2 separate regions of the Homo sapiens genome follow, and region 2 is linked to region 1. The links are contacts of gene promoters, found by promoter capture Hi-C in human tissues and cell types (Jung and others, 2019). All regions are on one chromosome and are shown on one strand. Each heading gives the region's core, a stretch centred on a gene start or on the middle of the fragment in contact. The rest is flanking DNA. Distances are from core to core; before and after follow the strand shown.

Evidence for each region. The method cuts DNA at HindIII sites, captures the fragments that hold promoters and counts their contacts. A contact is called where the count stands out against the background at its distance.
Region 2: a contact is called between a fragment that was not itself captured here and the fragment with the promoter of PAPLN in region 1, in 1 of the 25 tissues and cell types used here (mesenchymal stem cells).

The regions. Positions count from the first base shown.
Region 1 is chr14:73,234,482-73,239,906 of GRCh38, reverse strand. It overlaps PAPLN (papilin, proteoglycan like sulfated glycoprotein), which reads right to left and starts at 2,401. Exons shown (of 27, transcript NM_001365906.3): 1 at 2,315-2,401; 2 at 75-134. The coding sequence starts at 128. RefSeq lists enhancers at 1,840-2,410, 2,984-3,555, 3,556-4,128 and a silencer at 3,472-3,766. The HindIII fragment of the contact is 14,518 bases long and covers 1-5,392 here.
Region 2 is chr14:73,190,410-73,195,834 of GRCh38, reverse strand. It overlaps PSEN1 (presenilin 1), which reads right to left. Exons shown (of 12, transcript NM_000021.4): 7 at 2,971-3,191. Among named protein-coding and RNA genes, the nearest start is that of PAPLN, 44 kb to the left of the region's middle. The HindIII fragment of the contact is 3,125 bases long and covers 1,681-4,805 here.

The DNA.
Region 1 (5,425 bases), core at 1,152-3,651:
CCTGCGGGCCCGCGCGTCCCCGCCCCCGACTCCCCTGCAGGTTCCTCCGGGGGCCGGGGCAGGACCGCACTCACCGAGGACCCGGGCGCTGGAGCCAGCAGCAGCGGCACGAGCAGGAGCAGCCGCATCTCAGCCTGCGGGAGACGCATTGGGTTAGAGCGGCCCGGGGCTCCCGCAGCTGTCCTGGGCGCGGGCGAGAGTGTGTGGGCGCGTCTCTCCCTATGGCCCACAGGTGACCAGGAGACCCGCAACAGGACAGCCGGGTGCGCCTCGGTGCACCGCAGAGAACACAGCGTGAGGGCGCCCCGCCGGGCGGCTCAACATGTGAGCAAGAAAGGAATGGCCCATCCGCAACTGGCAGAAGTTCAAGAACAACTTGTTTCAGAGTTCCAGAGGGGAAAAAAAGAGAGAGCAATTAAAAATACTTCTATGTGGTTGAAAAACAAGTTCAGAATCCGAGTAATTAGACTCACTTTTAATTCAGCAAGATTCCTTTTAAAAAAGCTATTACATCAGATGTTTAAAAACTCCTAATATAGGCTTTAAAAAAATCAAGTCTCTGAAGACACTTTGAAAACCCAAATGCTCTAAAAGTGTTAATTGTAGCCCATTTAAAACCCAAGCCAGCATTTCTCTGCACAGGGAAGCTCCATAAGCAGCCTCCATAACCAACGTGTGTATGCAGTGCAGTGTGCGCCGTGCAGTGTGCGTGGTGCAGCGTGTGAGCCCTGAAAGTGCAGTGCAGTGTGCAGTACAGTGTAGTGTGCTCAGGGCAGTGTGCAGTGCAGTGTGTGTGGAGTGTCTGTGGTTTGATGTGTGCATGCATGCAAAGTGCATGTGCAGTGTGCGGGGCGGGTCCATGTGCAGTCTGGTGTGTACTATTTGGTGCAGGTGTCCAGTCGGTATACACGCTGTGCAGTGTGTATGTGTACATACATGTCGCTGTATCGCAGAATGACATAAACAATGTGCGCCCTTCAGTACAAAACATTAAACAAGTACTAGCGTGCAGGTTTGAACTTTAAAATCTGTAATTCTACCAATGTTCTAATTTTTTAAAGATATAAAATGACTTCTGCTTACAAGGATAAAAGACAGCATACAGAAGCCAAGCTCAGCAGAAATGTAACCTGGCATACTGAACAATGTACACACTCGTTAATTTGGCACAGTGAGTCATTGAGTCATTATTTTCGTGGTCAAGTTCGAGATTCCTGGGGTTGGAGGGTGAGGGAAGGGGGTTGCTGCCAGAGCCCTGCCTCTGCTCTGCTGGGGGCAGCTCCCAGAGCAGGAGCCCCCTGCTAGGGCCAGGCTAGGCCTGCTAGGGCGGGCGAGGCTGAGGAAAAGACGGGTGAAAGAAGAATTTTACTTGTAATTACTCAGAACACCACCGCCTCCGCTGCAATTTCACTGAACTCCAAGCCCATATCTGCCATTCCGAAGTCTGAAAAGTTCAGTTTTTTCGGTTCATTTGGTGGCAAACAACCCCTTCAACTCCAAGGCCAGTCCGGGTCTGGTCACGGGGCTACTCCGAGGGCCGTGGAAGCTCGACCTCTCCTGCCGCCCGAGGGCAGGGACCGGGTGGCCCCGGGCACGCAGGGTGGGCGCCCTCAACGTGTTGTTCCCGGGGAACGCGTCTGCCTTGAGCTAGGGCCGAAGGCGGCGACCCTAGGCGCCAGAGGGCGGGAAGGCGGGTGGCCGCCGACCAAGCCTCCCCCTACAGGGTCCCCAGCCGACTCCGGGACCGCCGCAGTCCGCAGACGCCCGTCCCCGTGGCCCCCGCCCACGGCCCCCCTCTGCATCGGTCCAGCCCTGACCAGGCACCCCGCGTCCCCACCCCAGGAACGCGCCGCGCACCCCCGAGGCGGAGAGGCGCGGTTCCCACGGGAGGCCCGGGGTGGCCGCGCAGGTGCCGGCAGCCGCTGGGGCTCCCGGACGCTCCAGGCCCGCGGCCCAGTGGCACCTCCCGGGAGGGGCGCACGGTCTCCAGGGCCTCGCTTGTACCACGCGCCGGGAGCGGCATTCGCCTGAAGGGAAGGTCCGAGCGGGCGGAGGGTGCGCGCCGGGGCCGTCCCGCACCAGCTCCCCGGCTCTCTGCATTTCCTTTCCTCCAGGCCGGGGGGCGCGCGGTGCCGAGCGATGACCCTGCGCCCACCTCCGGAGAGCGAGCCGGGGCGGGGTCTTCTCTGCGGCCCCCACTTTCTCCGACACCCCCGTCGCCGTGAGCCAGGCGAGCAAATTCCTGCAGAAGCCCCGGGGTGCGGGGTCCCCGCCGCTGGGCGCCCGGGGGCTTCCAGTCCCTCCGCCTCCCTACCTGTCTTCGCTGGCGCCGGGAGGCTGCAGCCAGGGCCGCTCCGTCGGTGCCCGCCCAGGCCCAAGCCCGCGAGGTCGGCCGGGCCGCAAGGAACGCCCGCAGGGGTGGGACTTTCTCTCTCCGCCGCTGCCTGGCCTCACCCTCCACCCCGCCCTGTCTCACTTACCCACCTCCAATCCCCGTGGGAGGACAGAGCCCTTCGTAGAGGCCCTCGTGGTGACCGGTGTTGCCCGGGGCCTCCACCCGCTTGGGTCTGTGCCAAGGCTTGGCTCATCCTCCACTCTGGTCACCCCGTCTGTCCTCTCTTGGGTCAGCGCCAGTCACCTCTCCAATCCCATTTCCCCTTGCCCAAGCCTTCTAGCTTTGCCCTATCCGCTCCTCTTCATGCCTATCCTACACACAACACACCTGTGTCCAGCCACCACCTTCTCCACCCCTGGATCCTATTCTTCAGCCGCAACTGAGTTTCTCCGCACACGCTGCTGTTACCCATCTCCCAGCACGTTTTCTCACTCAGAATGCGCTCTCCCAATCCCCTCTACCTCTCAAACCCGTAGTCAGCCCTCAAAACCTTGGTCAAATGTCACTTTCCTTCCTTTCTTCTTTCTTTCCCTCCCTCCCTTCCTCTTTTCTTTCTTTCTACTTTCCTCCCTCACTTTCTTCTTTCTTTCCCTCCCTCCCTTCCTCTTTTCTTTCTTTCTACTTTCCTCCCTCCCTTTCTTCCTCTTTCTTTTCTTTCTTTCTACTTTCCTCCCTCCTTTTCTTTTTTTTTTTTTTAGACGGAGTTTCACTCTTGTTGCCCAGGGTAGAGAGCAATGGCTAGATCTTGGCTCACTGCAACCTCCGCCTCCTGGGTTCAAGCGATTCTCCAGCCTCAGCCTCCCTAGTAGCTGGGATTACAGGCGTCTGTATGATGCCTGGCTAATTTTTGTATTTTTAGTAGAGACAGGTTTTCACCTTGTTGGCCAGACTGGTCTCCAACTCCTGACTTCAGGTGATCCACCCACCTCGGACTCCCAAAGTGCTGGGATTACAGACGTGAGCCACTGCGCCCAGCCTTCTTCTTCTTTTTTTAAATAGAAACAAGGTCTCGCCCAACCTGGTCTCGAACTCCTGAGCTCAAGCAATCTTCCCACCGTGGCCTGCCAAAGTGCCACCGTGCCCAGCATGTCACCTGCTTTTGAAGCCGTCTCCACACCACCCCAGGCCGATGGGGTGCATGTCCTGCTCCCTCGGTTTCTGTCCCTGTTGCTGTGATTTGCTCAGCTGTGAGTCCCGGGGGGCAGGGCCTGCAATGCAGCCCCACCACCTGTGCCAGGGCACTAATTAGCATCAAGGCAGGGGCTCAACGCATGTGATCAACTTCATTTGTTTTCCTGGTTGTCCTTTTTCACAACCAAGACACTCTTTGCCTACCATTCTTTTTTTGAAACTGGAATTCACTCATCTTTAGAAACTGGTCCTGGACACGAGGGAGGTTGGGGGGAAGAAGTTGGGGAGAGGTTGGGGGTGGGGTGGTGGCAAAGGCTGGTCCCCTTCCCCCACGCTGTTCTGCCTTTAGCCCCTTGCTGGCCCTGCCACTTCTCCCTTGGCCTCATTTGGGCAAAGAGAAGTCACCAGCGGGAAGCTCAGCCCCACTTCAGCCCCCTGGCTCCAGCAGCTGCCTGTTTGGACAAAATGCTTATTAGAACATGGCCAGTTTAAATCAGTTTAAATCAGGTGCATTTCTTACCTATCAATGAAGACAGGAGGAGCAGCAGCTGTAGCGGGGCCCCTGGGGAGTTGTGTGAATTCTTAAGCAAAGATAAAGCTTGGCAGAGAAAGGGGAGTGGAATCATGCAGCCTCTCTAAAGAGGAAAAGCGCTTCTTCCATTCAACAAGCCCCACTCCCTGCCCCCACCAGCTGGGACTTTTCTGAGCTTGGTCAAAGGTCCTCTGTTAAGTGGGAGGAAAATGCTTCTCCCGCTGCAGGGTGGGGGAAGCTGAGGCCCAAGGAGCTCACTTTCCTGCTGTGTCCCTGCTTTTCCTATGATCCTTTCTTCTCAGACACCCAGGGCTGTGATTTCTTATGCCTCACGCCAGCTGCAAAGAGGACTCTGAGGTTGGGAGGCAGAACCCACACTCAGTGGTAAGGGACTGTCTTAGACCCACCAGCCAGGCCCTAGCAATTACTGGCTTGGGCAGGAATATTCTCTTTAAGCCTCATTTCTCCTCTGCTTACCTCACAGAGATGTGAACAGAACTGATGCATTAAAATAGGGTGGTTTAGAAAGAAGATTCCAGGAAAAAGTGTAAGACCTTCCTTCCTATTGTCAAGTCCCCTCTGTGCTGGCTCTATGCCACTCAGTGTCTGCACCTGAGACGCCCTCGCATTGGGGGTTTGGGGTAGCCTGGGGCGGAGGCAGACCTGGACTGGAAGGCTGCTCTGCTTCTCACTGTGTGTGTACTTGGGCAGGTCGGGTCACCTCCTTAAGCCACAACTTGCTCACTTGAGACTCATACAGCAGGTGGTAGAGTAGGGAAGTAACTGGTTTCCATAAAATTCCTACTAGATGCAGAATAAAAGTTAGTTCTGATCTGGGCGCAGTGGCTCATGCCTGGAGTCCCAATACTTTGAGAGGCTGAGGAGGGAGGATTGCTTAAGTCTAGGAGTTCAAAACTAGCCAGGGCAACACAGTGAGACCCTCCATCTCTACAATTTTTTTTTTAATTAGCCAGGTATGGTGGCAGTTGCCTGCAGTCCAAGATAGGGGTCCTCAATCCCCAGGCCACGGACCGGTACCTGTCCATGGCCTGTTAGGAACGGGCACACAGCAGGAGGTGAGCAAGCATTACTGCCTGAGCCCCGCCACCTGTCAGGTCAGTGGCAGCATTAGATTCCCACGGGAGCATGAACCCTGTTGTGAACTACTCATGCAAGGGACCTAGGGTGTGCATTCCTTAGGAGACTCTGATGCCTGATGATCTGAACAGGATCAGGCTTTAGACTGGAACAGTTTCTTCCCGAAACCATCCCACCCCGCTCCCAGACCTGAAAAAATTCTCTTCCATAAAACTGGTCCCTGGTGCCAAAAAGGTCGGGTACCACTGGCCAAGCTACTTGGAAGGCTG
Region 2 (5,425 bases), core at 1,994-4,493, 45 kb after region 1:
ATACAAAAATATAACACTGGGCTGGGTATAGTGGCTCACACCTGTAATCTCAGCACTTTGGGAGGCTGCTTGAAGCTAGGAGGTCAACACCAACCTGTGCCTGTAGTCTTATCTACTCGGGAGGCTGAGACAGGAGGACTGCTTGAGCCCAGGCTTTTGAAGCTACAGTGAGCTATAATCGTGCCACTTCACTCCAGCCTGGGAGACAGAGTGAGATCCTGTTTCTTAAAACAGAAAAAAATTTACTGATAGACATTGTTCTAAGTGTATTATTGTATTAAATGGATCATTTAATTTAATCTTCATAACTGACATAGGAGTTGAGTAACTTGTGTGGTCAAATAGCTAGTAAGTGATGAGTAGGCTGGGCGCAGTGGTTCAAGCCTGTAATCCCAGCACTCTGGGAGGCTGAGGCAGGCAGATCACTTGAGGTCAGGAGTTTGAGACCAGCCTGGCCAACATGGCAAAACCTCGTCTCTACTAAAAATACAAAAATTAGCTGGGCGTGGTGGTGCGCACTTGTAGTCCCAGCTACTCGGAAGGCTGAGGCAGGAGAATCGCTTGATCCCGGGAGGGAGAGGTTGTAGTGAGCTGAGATCACGCCACTGCACTCCAGCCTGGGCAACAAAGCGAGACTCTATCTCAAAAAAAATAAAAATAAAAAGTGATGAGTAGAATTTGAACCCAGACATTCTGTCTCCAGACCTGGCATTCTTACTCACAGCTAAGCAAGAATAGATGGTTACTTTGCAAACCATCAAGTACTATACAACATAAGGTAATTATGAAAGTCAGAGAGAGTATATGACTTCTATAGTTCCACAACTGATTACTCAAATACAAGAACAGAACCAGTTCAATCCTATTTCCACAGACTTCTTCGTCAATCAAATGAGGATGATGTTTCCTATTACAGGCCACCAAACATTTTAGTAAGTATGTAAATAATGACAAAAGTGTATGGCCAGGCCGGGCACGGTGGCTCATGCCTGTAATCCCAACACTTTGGGAGGCCGAGGCAGGTGAATCATGAGGTCAGGAGATCGAGATCATCCTGGCTAACATGGTGAAACCCCGTCTCTACTACAAATACAAAAAAATAGCCGGGCGTGGTGGCAGATGCCTGTAGTCCCAGCTACTTGGGAGGCTGAGGCAGGAGAACGGCATGAACCTGGGAGGCGAAGCTTGCAGTGAGCCAAGATCACGCCACTGCACTCCAGTCTGGGCGACAGAGCCAGACTCCGTCTTGAAAAAAAAAAAAAAAAAAAGTGTATGGCCAGGCATGGTGGCTCATGCCTGTAATCCCAACACTTTGGCAGGCCAAGGTGGGAGGATCGCTTGAGGCCAGGAGTTCCGGACAAGCCTGGGAAACACAGTGAGATCTCATCTCTGAAAAAAAATTTTTTTTTAAAAAATTAGGCATGGTAGTGCATGCCTGTAGTTCTATCTACTTTGAAGGCTGAGGTGGGAGGATTGTTTGAGCCCAGGACAAGGGTTTGAGGCTGCAGTAAGCCACGTTCATGCCACTGTACTCTAGCGTGGATGACAGAGAGAGATCCTGTCTTTGGAAGAAAAAAACAAAAAGAAAAAAAAAAGAGTATGGCCATGGCCTTATAATATAGAAGGGGTCACATATTAATCTCTGAAAATGGATCTCTTTTTGGCTTTCATACAAGGCAACAGCCACAGAGTACGTACCTGAAAGCTGCCTGGGTTAATGGCTGGAGTATGTTCTAACTGTTCAGGACCCATGTCACACTGGTGGTTACAGAATGTGAATCTCACACTGTCCAAATCGGTTTTATTTTTAAAAGAATAATTCTATACATTACCTTATAAAAAGTAGGTAACCTAATTTTGATTTTAAAAGTGAATTGAGGCCAGATGCAGTGGCTCACACCTATAATCCCAATACCTTGAGAGGCCAAGGTAGGAGGATTGCTTGAGCCCAAGAGTTCAAGACCAGCCTAGGCAATATAGCAAGACGTTCTCTCTACAAAAAATAAACAAGTTAGTCAGGCATGGTGGTGCACACCTGTAGTTCTAGCTACTTGAGAGGCTGAAGTGGGAGGATCGCATGAGCCAGGGAGTTCAAGGTTGCAGTGAGCTATGACTGTGCCACTGCACCCCAGCCTGGGTGACACAGCAAGACTTTGTCTCAAAAAAAAGAAAAAAGCTTCTGCAGTAAGATATAAAGGAAAAAAATCGTTTAAAAAATGAATTGAGCATTTTGTGTGTCTACCACTCTGCTTGTGCTTTTTTTTTTTTGCTTTTTTTTTTTTTTTGAGACAGAGTCTCGCTCTGTCACCCAGGCTAGAGTGCAGTGGCACCATCTCGGCTCACTGCAACCTCCACTTCACTTCCTGGGTTCAAATAATTCTCCTGCCTCAGCCTCTCAAGTAGCTGGGAATACAAGGGTACGCCACCACACCCAGCTAATTTTTGTATTTTTAGTAGAGACGGGGTTTCACCATATTGGCCAGCTTGTCAAAACCTCAAAAAGCTTGAAAAACCAAATTTTTTTTGAGACAAGGTCTTGTTCTATCACCCAGGCTGGAATACAGTGATGCAATCATGGCTCACTGCAGCCTTGACCTCCTGGGCTCAATCGATCCTCCCACCTCAGCCTCCTAAGTAGCTGGAACTACAGGTGTGCACCACCATGCCCGGCTAATTTTTGTATTTTCTGTAGATACGAGGTTTTGCCATGTTGCCCAGGCTGGTCTTGAACTCTGGGCTTAGGTGATCTGCCCGCCTCAGCCTCCCAAAGTGCTAAGATTACAGGCATGAGCTACCATGCCCAGCCGAAATCTTCAAATGAAAAAGTTACTATAGCTAATTAATGATTTACTGAAGAGTTATGGGATGTACACGTTACCATTTTCTCTAAATCAAGATAAAGAGATGAGGAAAGAAAACACTCCAGTGGGGCATTCCTGTGACAAACAAATTATCAGTCTTGGGTTTTACCATATACTGAAATCACAGCCAAGATGAGCCACGCAGTCCATTCAGGGAGGTACTTGATAAACACCAGGGCCATGAGGGCACTAATCATAATGAGATATGCCTGCTGGAGTCGAAGTGGACCTTTCCAGTGAATGGAAATCATTCCCACCACACCAAAATTCCAGATCAGGAGTGCAACAGTAATGTAGTCCACAGCAACGTTATAGGTTTTAAACACTTCCCTGAAAAAAAATTACACAGATTTTAAAAGATGTACAATAATTTTCACCAAAACATTATTTAGAATAATGTGATGGCTCCCAAACATTAGATATTAATATCCCACCTTTATAATTTTACCATAACCTATATCAACTGTGCTATTATTTATTTAATACTTCCCTTTAAATTAATTTACTCTTTTTTTGTTTTTGTTTTTGTTTTTGAGCCAGGGTCTCATTTTGTTGCCCAGGCTGGAGTAAAGTGGTGCAATCACGGCTCACTGCAGTCTTTACCTCCGGAGATCAGGTGGTCTTCCCAGCTCAGCCTCCTAAGTAGCTGGGACAACAGGTGTGTGCCACTATGCCCAGCTAATTTTTCTAATTTTTTTTGTACAGATAGGGTTTCAACATGTTGCCCAGGTTGGTCTAAAACTCCTGGGTTCAAGCAATCCACCCGTCTCAGCCTCCCAAAGTGCTGGGATTACAAGCATGAGCCACGGTGCCTGGCCAATTAATTCACTTTTTTCCCTCAAGTTGAACAATTCACTTTTTTTTTCCCAAGCTGAACTTTTTCTTAATAGGAAGCTCTGTATCATTCATATAAATGGGAAACCAGTTGCACAGGCCATAACTATAAAAATGAGTACGAAGAGGAAAAAAGATCATATCATACCTAAAATGCCATACTATACTTTGGGAAATATTAGTTTAAAACATCTGAAATTAGAAAAAATTAAACATGTGCTAACAAATTTTATAGCTAGGACATAAATTTTCATACAATGAGATTTAGCAGTCATTAAAAATAGATATATGCAGGCTAGGCACAGTGGCTCACACTCTAATCCCAGCAATTTGGGAGGCTGAGGTGAGAGGATCACTTGAGGCCAGGAATTCCAGACGAGCCTGGGCAACACAGTGAGACTCTATCACTACAAAAAAATTTTAAAATTAGCTAAAGTTGATGGCACATGCCTGCAGTCCCAGCTACTCAGGAGGCTGGGGCAGGAAGATAGCTTGAGCCTGGGAGTTAGAGGCTGTGTGAGCTATGATCACACTACTGCACTCCAGCCTGGGCAACACAGCAAGACCCTAAAACTAAAAAAGAAAAGAAAAAAAAAATATATGTACGTATTTTGGAATTTCAAAGTGGGAGATAAATCATTTTTCCAGACAGTATCTGAAACCCAAAGTTTATGCTTAAATAAAGGTGTGCTTTCTTTCACCTTCAAAGCGGGAGAAGAATCATCATACACACACACACACTTATACATACACATATATACAAATACATTTTTTAATACACACATATAAACATGGAGTATAGGCATAACACACTGTTGCTTGAAAAAATATAGGATCCCATTTATGATCCCATTTATGCAAAGTAGTGTGAGAGAAGAGTAGATGAGAAATTGATATATTAATTCCTGAAAGGATGACAGGACTTATCTTTAGGTGGTGGGAATCTGGTCATTTTTCTTCTTTATAATCTTATATAATGTCTTTTTTAAAAAAACAATGAATGTTAAGTATTTTTATAATGAAGAAAATGCTATTTTAATTCTGGGGAGGCAAAATCCACCATCTAACAACAAAGAGATTGCAACTGTAGAAGATGCCTGAGGTAACTGAGGAGAAAGCAAGCACGCCTTTAGGCATAAACTTTCAGTTTCAGGTACCATCCAAAAAGATGATTCCTCTCCCACTTTGAAATTCCAAAATAGAGTAAACATTGAAATTTCTGGACGATGTAGATATTTATATTAAGCATTTCCAGTATCCTCAAACTAAAAAACAAAAACAAAAACAATCTATTTATTAATCTTTGGCCAGGTAACACATGAATAAGATATAAAATTCACAACAGATACTGTGAAAAGTAGGTTTTCTCCCCACTGTGCCCCATGGTTCCCCTCTTTAGAGGAAAGCACTACTTTTTCTTGAGATGGGGTCTTGCTATGTTGCCCAGGCTGGCTATGAACTCCTAGGCTCAAGCAGTCCTCCTGTCTCCACCTCCAAAAATGTTGAGATTACAGGTGTGAGCCACCGTGCCTGATTGGAAAGCACTACTATTAATTTCATGTACATCCTTCCAGAAAGTCTATACATGTCATATATATACTTTTCTACTTGACACAAATGATAGCATATTTTAATTTTTTTTTTTTTTTTTTTTAAATAGAGACAAGGTCTGACTGTCACCCTGGATAGAGGGCACAACCACAGTTCACTGCAGCCCCAAAGTCCTTGGC